Regions from separate parts of the Homo sapiens genome. Here all the other regions are linked to region 3. The links are contacts of gene promoters, found by promoter capture Hi-C in human tissues and cell types (Jung and others, 2019). All regions are on one chromosome and are shown on one strand. The core of a region is centred on a gene start or on the middle of the fragment in contact, and the rest is flanking DNA. Distances in the headings are between cores, read along the strand shown. Region 1 overlaps FAM114A1 (family with sequence similarity 114 member A1). Region 2 overlaps TLR6 (toll like receptor 6). Region 3 holds the start of WDR19 (WD repeat domain 19). Region 4 has its middle 50 kb from the start of TLR10.

The links. The method cuts DNA at HindIII sites, captures the fragments that hold promoters and counts their contacts. A contact is called where the count stands out against the background at its distance.
Region 1: a contact is called between a fragment that was not itself captured here and the fragment with the promoter of WDR19 in region 3, in 1 of the 25 tissues and cell types used here (spleen).
Region 2: a fragment that was not itself captured here is called in contact with the fragment with the promoter of WDR19 in region 3 in 1 of the 25 tissues and cell types used here (spleen).
Region 4: a fragment that was not itself captured here is called in contact with the fragment with the promoter of WDR19 in region 3 in 1 of the 25 tissues and cell types used here (spleen).

What each region holds. Positions count from the first base shown.
Region 1 is chr4:38,906,821-38,910,069 of GRCh38, reverse strand. FAM114A1 (family with sequence similarity 114 member A1) reads right to left here. Exons shown (of 15, transcript NM_138389.4): 7 at 1,344-1,478. Among named protein-coding and RNA genes, the nearest start is that of MIR574, 40 kb to the right of the region's middle. The HindIII fragment of the contact is 7,729 bases long and covers 1-3,249 here.
Region 2 is chr4:38,846,712-38,849,954 of GRCh38, reverse strand. The region is part of intron 1 of TLR6 (toll like receptor 6); the gene reads left to right. Among named protein-coding and RNA genes, the nearest start is that of TLR6, 8.5 kb to the left of the region's middle. The HindIII fragment of the contact is 4,111 bases long and covers 1-3,243 here.
Region 3 is chr4:39,181,018-39,183,912 of GRCh38, reverse strand. WDR19 (WD repeat domain 19) reads right to left here and starts at 1,384. Exons shown (of 37, transcript NM_025132.4): 1 at 1,350-1,384. The coding sequence starts at 1,355. RefSeq lists enhancers at 346-415, 1,116-1,265, 1,390-1,684, 1,536-1,715. The HindIII fragment of the contact is 15,497 bases long and covers 1-2,895 here.
Region 4 is chr4:38,731,653-38,734,979 of GRCh38, reverse strand. No RefSeq gene overlaps it. Among named protein-coding and RNA genes, the nearest start is that of TLR10, 50 kb to the left of the region's middle. The HindIII fragment of the contact is 3,485 bases long and covers 75-3,327 here.

The DNA of each region.
Region 1 (3,249 bases), core at 455-2,954, 270 kb after region 3:
GTAAAGACAGGGTTTCACCATCTTGGCCAGGCTGGTCTCGAACTCCTGACCTCAGGTGATCTGCCCGCCTCGGCCTCTCAAAGTGCTGGGATTACCGGCATGAGCCACTGTGCCCAGCCATCTATTTTCTTTTTCAAGGAGCAGCAGGGTGATGGTCTAGATGATCCTGCAAAGTCCCTCCCTGGACTATAACATCGGAGTGCTCATACTTGGGTTATTCCAGAAGAGACAAGAAGAAATAGCCTAAAACAAAAGCTTCTAGGGGTTGCCATGAACATATTCTCAGTGATAGCTGTTCATGAAGGCAACCTTCATGGGTTCCTAGTACCAAGTCCTGCCTGTGACGTTTACAAAATCCACTGCTGCATCAGCTGCTTCTGATTTCAGGAAAGCACAGAGACCTGGTGTATCAGTCTCTCGTGGAGGAGGTGGACTGGGGCATGCCTGGATTGTGGGGTAAGCTAGGCATGTTCCATCTGGAAAAGTAAGTTTAATATTAGAGTCATATTTGGAAAACAAGACTAATATTATTTCCAATTTTCTTAACTATTGTAAGTAAGCAAAGACAGATTGAATTCTTTGTTTTATGTTTTGCAAGAAGGGCTGGAAAACTTTAGTGCTGGAAGTGTGAGAGGAGAAGACCATCCTTGCACATATCAAGAGAAACAGAATTTAAAATTCCAATGAGATACCATTTCCACCTATTATACCGACACATAATAACGGCAATGACAACAACTAACATTTCTGAATGCTTACTAAGAGCTGGGTTCTATTCTAACTCAGCGTATCCTCACAACAAAGTTATTGGTAGGTATTTAAATTATCCCCAGTGTACAGATGAGTAAGCTGAGGCACAGAGGGGCTAAGTAACTTGCCCAAGGTCACTCAGCTACTAAGTGGTAGAGATGGGATGCATACCATGACATAAATGGATCATCTTCAAGAAATAATATTAAGTGAATTAAGCAAGGAACAAGAGTGTGTTTAGTATGTTACCACTGGGTTGAAAAAATATGTGTGTATTTATGTGCATGTCTATCCACATGCATACATATGTACTTTTACATCTGTATATTTATGTATAGCTGCATCTATAGATCTATATCCATATCTCTCTGCGGTCTCTGATAGAATCCTTAAGGAACTGTTAACTGGTTGTCTCCTCTGAGGAATTAAGTGACTGGGGAAATGGGGGTATTAGAAGCTCAGTTTTCTCTCTCTGCTCTTTGGTGTCATTTGATTTGAATCACATGCTTTAAATGAGCTATTCAAAAAGATAAATAAAAAATTTATTTACTTTATTGACTGAAAGAAAAAATTGCAAACGTATATAATCCAACCTGAGACAAGGAAACAGTTCTCTCCATGAGCGTCTTGGTCCGCTTAAAGCCCGGGTCACTTTCTGCAAGGACATTCATGGTTTTCTTGCCGATGAATTCCAACGCATCAAGGCCTCCAGTTAAGACACTTTTACCCTGCAGATGAGATAACTGCATGAGATTAGATGTTTAGGTTTTGCTGTTTCGCAGCAGTCAGCAACTCCTAGGTAACTGGCACTATCTTCAAATATTAAAATCAATATAAAGTCACAATTTTTTCTCATCAGGAGATTTATCATCCATTTAATCCTATTCTCGTTTCCTTGGAAAAGCATATGTTATATAATTTGTAGGACATACAATGTTATTAAAGACTGATGCTTAGAAAAAAACCAAAGCACATAAAATAAAATTAATCCCACAAAGGGATTAATTTTACTGGCTCTCTGTGTATGAATGGATGTGTATCTAAGACATAAAATTAACATAAAATAAATTGCTAAGACATAAAATTAACATAAAATAAATTGCTGTTTCTGTTTAAAAATTTTTTTAACCCAAGTAACAGAGTTGCTTGGAGCAGTCTATTAAAATGTCAAACAGTCCTGCTAATTTAGGGAATTCTTTAATCTAGGGCCCTGGAGGGTAAGACCCTCAGGCTGTTTCAGATGGTTCTTGCATACTCTCAGAAACTAGCAATAACTGCCTATAATTAGTATATCCATGAAATGAGACAGGTTGATTTCCTTGTACTTCTGGCTTTAGAAACTGGTGTATTATATAGCTATCCTCCTGCAAATCCCTTTGTCAGTCATTGTTGCTTTTTTTAAAAAATTAAAATAACCCAGACTTACTCACACATAAACTATTCAAGTGAACAGAACTGCATACATGTCTTTGCAACTCTTTCATACTTACACTCCAACTGTATAACTGCAATTATAATATGCATACATCTGTGTTTTTCCCCACCATATATAAAAATGATATAAATTGTATTTTATTATGATATTATTACTGATATGCATTTTCCAATCTTCATAATTATCATTTAAATAGAAGTATTTAATTTCATAGAATTAATATACTTTATTTTCATCTTGGGTATTTAGACTTTGTTTTTAGATTTGGGAGCCAACCAGTAATCATGCTGTAAATCAGTTTTCAGTGCGCACACTTCGGGGGGATGATGGGACAGCAGCAATTCACACTTCTGTGTAATTTGACTTAGTGCCTGCTAACATCCTATGAAAAATTATTTTATTGAGAATAAAATGGTGGAAGAAAGGACACAGGGATTTGTGTTAAGGATAGACTTGGAGGGGTAGTGTCTGGAACTTGGGAAAAAGGGGTCAAGAAGGTTGGAGAGAACACAGAAAGGAATGTGAGGCTGCTGAAGACAAACTCATAGTGCCCTCTTGGTAGCTCAGATAGGCCGTGAATTCATTTCTTATACCAGAGGTACTGACAGAGCTCCATCCATCTCCCATCCTACAAACCCCCCACGGGGGTGGTTGACTTGTATTGCTACTTGACTCCTAAGACAGATTTGCTGCTCCTCCTTACTTCCCCCACCCCAGTCTAGAGGTCCTCAAATAGCAAGGAGAAGACCAGTCATTTTCTATATTTCTGGCATGTCCTGACCCCAAGGTCTGGGTGAGATCCTCTCATGTTTGACCGCAGCCCTCACCTCTTCCCGAATTACATTGTGTTTATTTGTTCAGTCGCCTCAGTCCTCTGGGATATTGTGCCCTCTTGTTTGCCAGCATATATCCAAGATCTAGCATAGATACTGGAACATAGTGAGGGCTAATCATGTTTGTGTTGTTGTTTTTCTTTTAATGAATGAATGAATGAATGAATGACTAAATGAGACACGAGCCATATTTTTAGAAAAACTAGTTAGTTTACATAGTAAGAAATACAC
Region 2 (3,243 bases), core at 661-3,160, 330 kb after region 3:
CAGTGTGGTGCTGAGAAAAATATATATTCTGTTGATTTGGGGTGGAGAGTTCTGTAGATGTCTATTAGGTTCGCTTGGTGCAGAGCTGAGTTCAATTCCTGGATATCCTTGTTAACTTTCTGTCTCGTTGATCTGTCTAATGTTGACAGTGGGGTGTTAAAGTCTCCCATTATTATTGTGTGGGAGTCTAAGTCTCTTTGTATTGGGTGCATATATATTTAGGATAGTTAGCTCTTCTTGTTGAATTGATCCCTTTACCATTATGCAATGGCCTTCTTTGTCTCTTTTGATTTTTGTTAGTTTATAGTTTGTTTTATCAGAGACTAGGATTGCAACCCCTGCCTTTTTTTGTTTTCCATTTGCTTGGTAGATCTTCCTCCATCCCTTTATTTTGAGCCTATGTGTGTCTCTGCACGTGAGATGGGTCTCCTGAATACAGCACACTGGTGGGTCTTGACTCTTTATCCAATTTGCCAGTCTGTGTCTTTTAATTGGAGCATTTAGCCCATTTACATTTAAGGTTAATATTATTATGTGTGAATTTGATCTGTCATTATGATGTTAGCTGGTTATTCTGCTCGTTAGTTGATGCAGTTTCTTCCTAGCATCAATGGTCTTTACATTTTGGCATGTTGTTGCAGTGGCTGGTACCGGTTCTTCCTTTCCATGTTTAGTGCTTCCTTCAGGAGCTCTTTTAGGGCAGGCCTGGTGGTGACAAAATCTCTCAGCATTTGCTTGTCTGTAAAGGATTTTATTTCTCCTTCACTTATGAAGCTTAGTTTGGCTGGATATGAAATTCTGGGTTGAAAATTCTTTTCTTTAAGAACGTTGAATATTGGCCCCCACTCTCTTCTGGCTTGTAGAGTTTCTGCCGAGAGATCAGCTGTTAGTCTGATGGGCTTCCCTTTGTGGGTAACCCAACCTTTCTCTCTGGCTGCCCTTAACATTTTTTCCTTCATTCAACTTTGGCGAATCTGACAATTATGTGTCTTGGAGTTGCTCTTCTGGAGGAGTATCTTTGTGGTGTTCTCTGTATTTCCTGAATTTGAGTGTTGGCCTGCCTTGCTAGGTTGGTGAATTTCTCCTGGATAACATCCTGCAGAATGTTTTCCAACATGGTTCCATTCTCCCCGTCAATTTCAGGCACACCAATCAGACATAGATTTGGCCTTTTCACATAGTCCCATATTTCTTGGAGGCTTTGTTTGTTTCTTTTTACTCTTTTTCCTCTAAACTTCTCTTCTCACTTCATTTCATTCATTTGATCATCAATCACTGATACTCTTTCTTCCAGTTGATCAAATCAGCTACTGAAACTTGTGCATTCGTCACATAGTTCTAGTGCCATGGTTTTCAGCTCCATCAGGTCCTTTAAGGACTTCTCTACACTGCTTATTCTAGCTAGCCATTCGTCTAATCTTTTGTCAAGGTTTTTAGCTTCTTTGCAATGGGTTCGAACTTCCTCCTTTAGTTGGAGAAGTTTGATCGTCTGAAGCCATCTCTCAACATGTCAAAGTCATTCTCTCTCCAGCTTTGTTCCGTTGCTGGCGAGGAGCTGCGTTCCTTTGGAGTGGGAGAGGTGCTCTGATTTTTAGAATTTTCAGCTTTTCTGCTCTGTTTTTTCCCCATCTTTGTGGTTTTATCCACCTTTGGTCTTTGATGATGGTGACGTACAGATGGGTTTTTGGTGTGGATGTCCTTTCTGTTTGTTAGTTTTCCTTGTAACAGTCAGGACCCTCAGCTGCAGGTCTGTTGGAGTTTGCTGGAGGTCCACTCCAGACCCTGTTTGACTGGGTATCAGCAGCGGAGGCTGCAGAACAGCGAATATTGCTGAACAGCAAATGTTGCTGCCTGATCGTTCCTCTGGAAGCTTTGTCTCAGAGGGGTACCTGGCCATGTGAGGTATCAGTCTGCCCCTACTGGGGGGTGCCTCCCAGTTAGGCTACATGGGGGTCAGGGACCCACTTGAGGAGGCAGTCTGTCCATTCCCAGATCTCAAACTCTGTGCTGGGAGAACCACTACTCTCTTCAAAGCTGTCAGACAGGGACATTTAAGTCTGCAGAGGTTTCTGCTGCCTTTTGTTGGGCTATGCCCTGCCCCCAGAGGTGGAGTCTACAGAGGCAGGCAGGCCTCCTTGAGCTGTGGTGGGCTCCACCCAGTTTGAGCTTCCTGGCTGCTTTGTTTACCTACTCAAGCCTCAGCAATGGCTGGCGCCCCTCCCCCAGCCTCACTGCCACCTTGCAGTTTGAGCTCAGACTGCTGTGCTAGCAATGAGCGAGGCTCCGTGGGTGTGGGACCCTCCAAGCCAGGTGCGGGATATAATCTCCTGGTATGCCGTTTGCTAAGACCGTTGGAAAAGCACGGTATTAGGGTGGGAGTGACCCAATTTTCCAGGTGCCATCTGTCACCCCTTCCTTTGGCTAGGAAAGGGAATTCCTGACCCCTTGTGCTTCCCGGGTGAGGCAATGCCTCACCGTGCTTCGGCTCACACTCATTGAGCTGCACCCACTGTCCTGCCCCCACTGTCCGACGGGCCCCAGTGAGATGAACCCGGTACCTCAGCTGGAAATGCAGAAATCACCCATCTTCTGCATCACTTATGCTGAGAGCTATAGACTGGAGCTGTTCCTATTTGGCCATCTTGGAACCACCCCCCCTAATGTGTGCATTCTTGATGTTGACTTTAACAGGAATGCCTTGGGGTGGAATATTGATTAAAGTTAGATATTTGAGGTATTCTTTATAAAGTTTTCAAAGTATTTTTTAAATACCTATAGTTGTATTTAATCAAAGATGAGGACTGAATTTTATCAAGTGAATTTTTCACCTTTATAGAGATGCTCATCTATTTTTCTTGTTTGACTTACTCAATTGAATTATTGTTATAGACTTGTTAATGATAGACCATTTCTACAATCTCAGAAACATCCTAATTACTCATTATATTTTTTCTTCAGGACACAGCTAGATTGATTGGGGTTTCTTTATTCTGAGCTCTATCCCTTCCCCATAAATGACTGAAATTTATCCCTTTTATTTGTATTTTCTCATAATTACTCTTAATTTTATAATATATATACTTACAAATATTTTTCTAACAACATCAGGAGTTAATTGGCATCTATAGCTTCCTTTCAATTAGACAACTATCTTACATGGTTTTAGTGCACTCTCTCCCTCCCTACCCCACCTTCAGCCAACTCCCTTCTCCCTTCTTATCATTGGCAGTTTTTAGCTCGAGA
Region 3 (2,895 bases), core at 135-2,634:
CAATGGCTGACTTGCCTCTAGCTGTGATTTCATATTATTTTTTTTCAGTGGAGCTCTATAGATGCTCCACATACCGTGCAGAGGAAAAACTGCTAGTTTCACAACCAAAAAACCAAGACTTAAATTTTGTTTGTAGCTTATTAGCTGTAGGGCTTTAAGTAAGTCGTTTAAATTGCCTCCAGCAAAAAATTCTCAACTGTAAATCATGAATAATAACTCTTCACTTCTAATATTTCATAAATTGTAAAGAGCTTTAGAAATAAAAATGGGAGTTATGATTACTGGTCCGTCAATTCCAATTTCCACACTAATAGCCACGAAGAAGCATGAGGACATCTAAAATAATTTTAAAATTGAGCCTTCCAGCCGGGCGCGGTGGCTCACGCCTGTAATCTCAGCACTTTGGGAGCCCGAGGTCGGGGGATCATGAGGTCAGGAGAGTGACAGCATCCTGGCTAACACGGTGAAACCCCATCTCTACTAAAAATACAAAAAATTAGCTGGGTGTGGTGGCACGCGCCTGTAGTCCCAGCTACTCGGGGGGCTGAGGCAGGAGAATCGCTTGAACCCAGGAGGTGGAGGTTGCAGGGAGCAGAGATTGCGCCACTGCACTCCAGCCTGGGTAACAGAGCGAGACTCAGTAAAAAAAAAAAAAAAAAAAAGCCTTCCATTTCTTTGCCAGAGCAGAGCAAGGGGGGACTGCTCTGATAAATCAGAAAGTGGGGTGAACAAGAAGCCCAAGCCTAGAAACCGTGCGTGCAGAGGATGAGGCACATGAGCGTGAGACCTGAGTTTTCGGGTGCAGATTTCCCGTCAATAATGTACACTCGCTAGCAGGTGATTGGACTGGTCACAGGTAATACATTTTGAAGTTATTCTTTAGGAGGCTTTTCATTCTTTTTAAGGCGCTGGGCAGCTGCGCGGCTTGCCAGAGGCTTAGCCCCAAGAAATGAGGTAGCTCGTGACATCGGACCCAGTCAACTTCACAGCGACCCTCCAAACGCGTTAACTCGACCAGTTCTTTCCGCGTGCGAAGCTGGGGTATCTTTAGATCCAGTCCGCTCATTTCGGCCAGGGAGGGGTTCCCACTTTCTGCACCGCTTCTACGGCGTCTGCAGTCCCCAAAACGAGAGGCCTCTCTCTCCGCCCTCTCCTCTCCTCCTATTTTCTTTCCTTTCTCTCGTCCCTTCAGCTTCGCCCCCGCTCTCTCTGGCCACCTCTCTCTCTCTCTCTCTTCCTCATTTCCAACGAACTCAGAAGGGAGAGGGACAGATATCCTCTTTTAAAAGCGACCAAGGGCCAGTAGTCGCGTTTTCCCGCCCCACCCCGGGAATTTGTAAGTTATTTACCTTCATCTCCACGCTCGAGCCGCTACGCGAACTATGAAGTACGCAGGCGCACCCGGTCTCCACCAAGCAGGCTACCGCGTTCCCGTCACCCAGGAGACCGCGCGAGCAGCGACCAATCAGCGAGTGCTAATTGAAAGGCGGTGCCTCGAGGGGCCGGGCCAAGCGCACCGCCCTCTGCGAGGGTGGGTGAGAGGCGGAGGGTGGAATCACATGACATCAGAGACGCTAACCCTGGGAAGTTGGGCGTCGCGAGGCCTTGCTGAGCCTCGGCTTCCTGGCTGGCTCTGATTGGATGAGATTCGTCCGGGAGAGACGGGCTCTGTGAGCCCTCAAAGGCGCGTGCGTAAATTTTGGACCGCGATGACTAAGATGTCAGTGCTGGCCAAAGGGGGCGCCGAGAAGCTGAAGGAAAGAAGACGCAGAATGTTAGATTAAAGGAGGCAGGATGGGCTAAATACTCCTATACAGTCCACGCAAAGAGGGGTTGGACGAGCTCGGGTATATCTTTTTTTCTTCCAGGTTTCTGGGGTAGAAGGGAGGAGGCATAAGAGGTACAATAGTTTATTTCAAGGTAGGGTTGTTGGTGCTTTTTTTTTTTCAGTTTCACCAAAATCTTTTTTTTTTTTCAATGTCAACAAAATGTGCTAGCTAACGTGGGCAGGAAAAATGAGCTCCAATAGTTTTCCTTTAGAGTTTGGATCTGGCAGCTTTTCCCCAAGTATAAAGCCCTGTTGTACAGTATTTGTGCTGCATTATTTATAGCATGAAAGTGCATCTTTTACCCAAGCGTCTGAAAGTGTTGAAACAGTCTACCTTTTGCTTTTCTTTTCGACATCAGGTAGGAATCTGATTGGCTTAGAGAAAGTTAATCAATGATTTGAAATAACTAATAATGAATGTTTGCAAATTCTTAAGTAGGGTGCTATGCCTTTGCACTGGGGTTTTCAGTTACGTTACGACAGGGGTCCGGATCCAGACCCCAAGAGAGGGTTCTTGGATCGCGCGCAAGAAAGAATTCAGGGCGAGTTCTCAGTGCTGAGAAAAGCAAGTTTATTAAAACACGTAAAGTGGTGAAAGGACAGCTACTCCATAGACAGAGTAGGACATTCCTGAAAGCAAGAGAAGGGACGCATCCACCCTAGGTACAATGCTTGTATATATGGGGAGATGTGCTCTGCTACAAGGGTTTGTGATCAAAGATTAATTTTCTTAATTATTTTGCAGGAATTGATATTATTATCTTTAAAGCAAAATTAGGAATGCCTTTGTTCTCCAGATATCCCGATATCTGGGTCTGTTTTAGTAAACATTATTAATTTATTCCCTTAATCGTAAACATCTAGAGGCGAGGAATGCCCAAATTCTGAGAATTCAGCCCAGCAAGTCTCAGCCTCATTTTCCTAGCCCTCACTCAAAATGGAATCGCTCTGGTTCAAACGCCTCTGACAGTTAGGTTAATTACTTAAATTTTTACTGAAAGATTCCTCTGCTGAAAGGGTAACCATTTAAAAATAGCCAGAGCAATCAGTTCTTAACAAGACCTGCC
Region 4 (3,327 bases), core at 568-3,067, 450 kb after region 3:
AGAATGCTTTATGTCCTTGGGCTATGATAAAGTGCCATTGCTGCTGATCCATCATTCTACCAGGAGGCAAACCCCAGCAGATGGTAAATCCCCAGTTCTTGCTCTTGCTCTCTGGAGCTCCTCAGGTAGGAATAATTCCCAGTTCCAGGCTTGCAGACCTCTGACTCTTTTTTATTTATTTACTCACTTATTCATTTTTTCATTCATTCATGCATGTGTCCACCTGTCTGCTTATCCATTCATCCATGCAACAAGTATTTACAGTGTGCCAACTTCGTGCCAGGCAATGTATTGAGAACTAGAGATGCAGAAGTGAAAAGGAAAAGCTTTACTCACTCTCATCGAGCTTCCTTTATACTGAGAGGTCAGACAAGAGAGCGACAGACACTATGGTAGGAGTGAGTGCTACAGGGTGCTATGGAGGCTCAGAGAGGGCACTTAGTCTAGGGCTCGGAAGAGGCGTGCCACAAGTAGTGATGCCAAGCACAAGTTTTTCCTGGCAAAAGAATGGCAAAGCTGGTTCTACCACAACCACCAGCTACTCTTGAAATCAACTTTTTGGGATCTTCTACTAGCCTGCTGCATCATGTAGATATACCACCACCACCACCACATCTACCACCATCACCATCACCACTACCTCTACCACCACCACCACCTCTACTACCACCGCCACCACTGCCATCACCGCCACCACCACCACGATTACCAGCACCACCACCTCCACCACCATCACCACCACCTCTACCACCACCATCACCACTGCCACCACCACCATCACCACCAGCTCCACCACCACCACCAGGCCACCATCACCACCACCACCAGCACTACCATCATCACCATCACTACCACTGCCACCACCACCATCACCACTACCATCACCACTACCACCACAACTACCATGATCACCACTACCACCACCACCATCATCACCATTACCACCAGGACCATCACCACTGCCACCACCAATACCATCACCACTACCAACAACACCACCAGCACCATCACTATCACCACCACTACCACCATCACCACCTCCATTACCACCACAACCACCATGGTCACCACCACCACCATCATTATCACCATCACCACCAACACCATCACCACCACCAACACCACTACCACCACCATTGCCACCAACAACAACATCATCAACACCACCAACACCACCAACACCATCACCGCTACCACCACAACCACCAGGATCACCACTACCACCACCACCATCATCACCATCACCACCAGGACCATCACCACTACCACCATCAACACCATCACCACCACCACCATCAACACCATCACCACCACGACCAGCACCATCACTATCACCACCACTGCCACCATCACCACCTCCACTACCACCAAAACCACCACGATGACCACCACCACCATCATCACCATCACCACCAACACCATCACCATCACCATCACCAACACCAACACCAACACCAACACCACCACCACCACCATCACCACCACCACCATCACCACCTCTGCTACCAACACAACCACAATGATCGCCACCTCCACCACCATCATCGCCATCACCACCAACACCATCACTACCACTAACACCACCACCACCAACACTACCACCACCAACACTACCACCATCACCACCTCCACTACCACCCCAACAACCATGATCATCACCACCACCACCATCACCACCACCGCCACCACTGCCTCCACCACCATCACCACTACCACCAGTACCACCACCATCACCACTAACACCACAGCCTCCACCACCATCACCACCAACACCACCATCCCACCATTACCACCACCATCATCACCACCACCATCACCATCACCACCACCATCACCATCATCAACACCACTACCACCACCACCACCATCACCTCCCTTTCTGAGCTGTGCCCTGCTGAACTTCCAAATTTCTTGAGAATATCGTCCCCTGGGGAACCCTATGGCTATTTTTACTTCTTCCATGTGTGCCTTCCTCCCCACAACCACCAGTGTTCCACTCAAAGGGGCATAAACATCTATAAGGCATTCTGTATGTATGTGTTTATATAGTCTTTTTTTTTTTTTGACAGAGTCTTGTTCTGTCATTCAGTCTGGAGTGCAGTGGTGCAATCTTGGCTCACTGCAACCTCTGCTTCCCAGGTTCAAGCAATTCTTGTGCCTCAGCCTCCCAAATAGCTGAGACTCCAAGTGCCCGCCACCATATACGGCTAATTTTTTTGTGTTTTTAGTAGAGATGGGGTTTCCCCATGTTGGCCAGGCTGGTCTCAAGCTCCTGATCTCAAGTGATCCGCCTGCGTCAGCCTCCCAAAGTGCTGAGATTACAGATGTGAGCCACCAATCTGGCCTATATAGTCTTAAACATGCTCACAATATATATGTTTATGTATCTTTGTAAGCATATGCCTAATGCCTAAAATGGAATATGGATGTATACATGTTTGCACAAATACACATATGTGTGTATATACATAAGGCATATGCATACACGTGAAGAGACATATATATAATCTTCAAATTTTCAAGAAAACAAATTGTTAAATTGAGGGTACTACCTCAGAAACCAAACTTTATTAAATTTTCCCAAAAGCAGAAATAAAAGGCAGTCTATAGATTATTTTGCTATCAGAGACAACCAACAAGCCCAACAACTTTGGAAGTGCCTGGCTGATATGAAAGTTATTCTTTTTTCTTTTTCTTTTTAATTAAAAATTAATTAATTAATTAATTAATTAATTAATTAGAGACAGTGTTTCACTCTGTTGCCCAAGCTGCAGTGCAGTGGTGCAATCACAGCTCACTGTAGCTGCAAACTCATGGGTTCAAATGATCTTCATACCTCAGCCTCTCAAGTAGCGGGGACCACAGGCATGTGTCAATTTTTAAATTTTTTTGTAGAGGGGGAGTCTTGCTAGGTTGCCTAGGCTGGTCTCAAACTTCTGGCCTCAAGTGATCTCCCACCTTAGCTTCCCAAAGTGCCAGGATTACGGGCATGGCCACTGTGCTTGGCTTACCTTTTTTCTTTGAAGAAGATGTTTTTATTGGAATAGAGTTAGCAGTTTCTTCCCTCCTCTTAGTATCTAGAATAATGAGCCTAGTGCGGTGGCTCATGCCTGTAATCCTGGCTCTGGGATTGTTAGAATTTCTGATGCCCGTGAAAGTGACCCTTAGGGTTGAGAGAGAGGAGAAAAGCTTTCTCTTAGATTTTATTAATAACCAAGAGAATTATGATGATGATATTAATAATAGCAATAATTAATATATAATTAACACATAACACTCCCTATGTGCCAGGCACCATTCTAAGTGTTTTGACATTTGCTTTGTTTG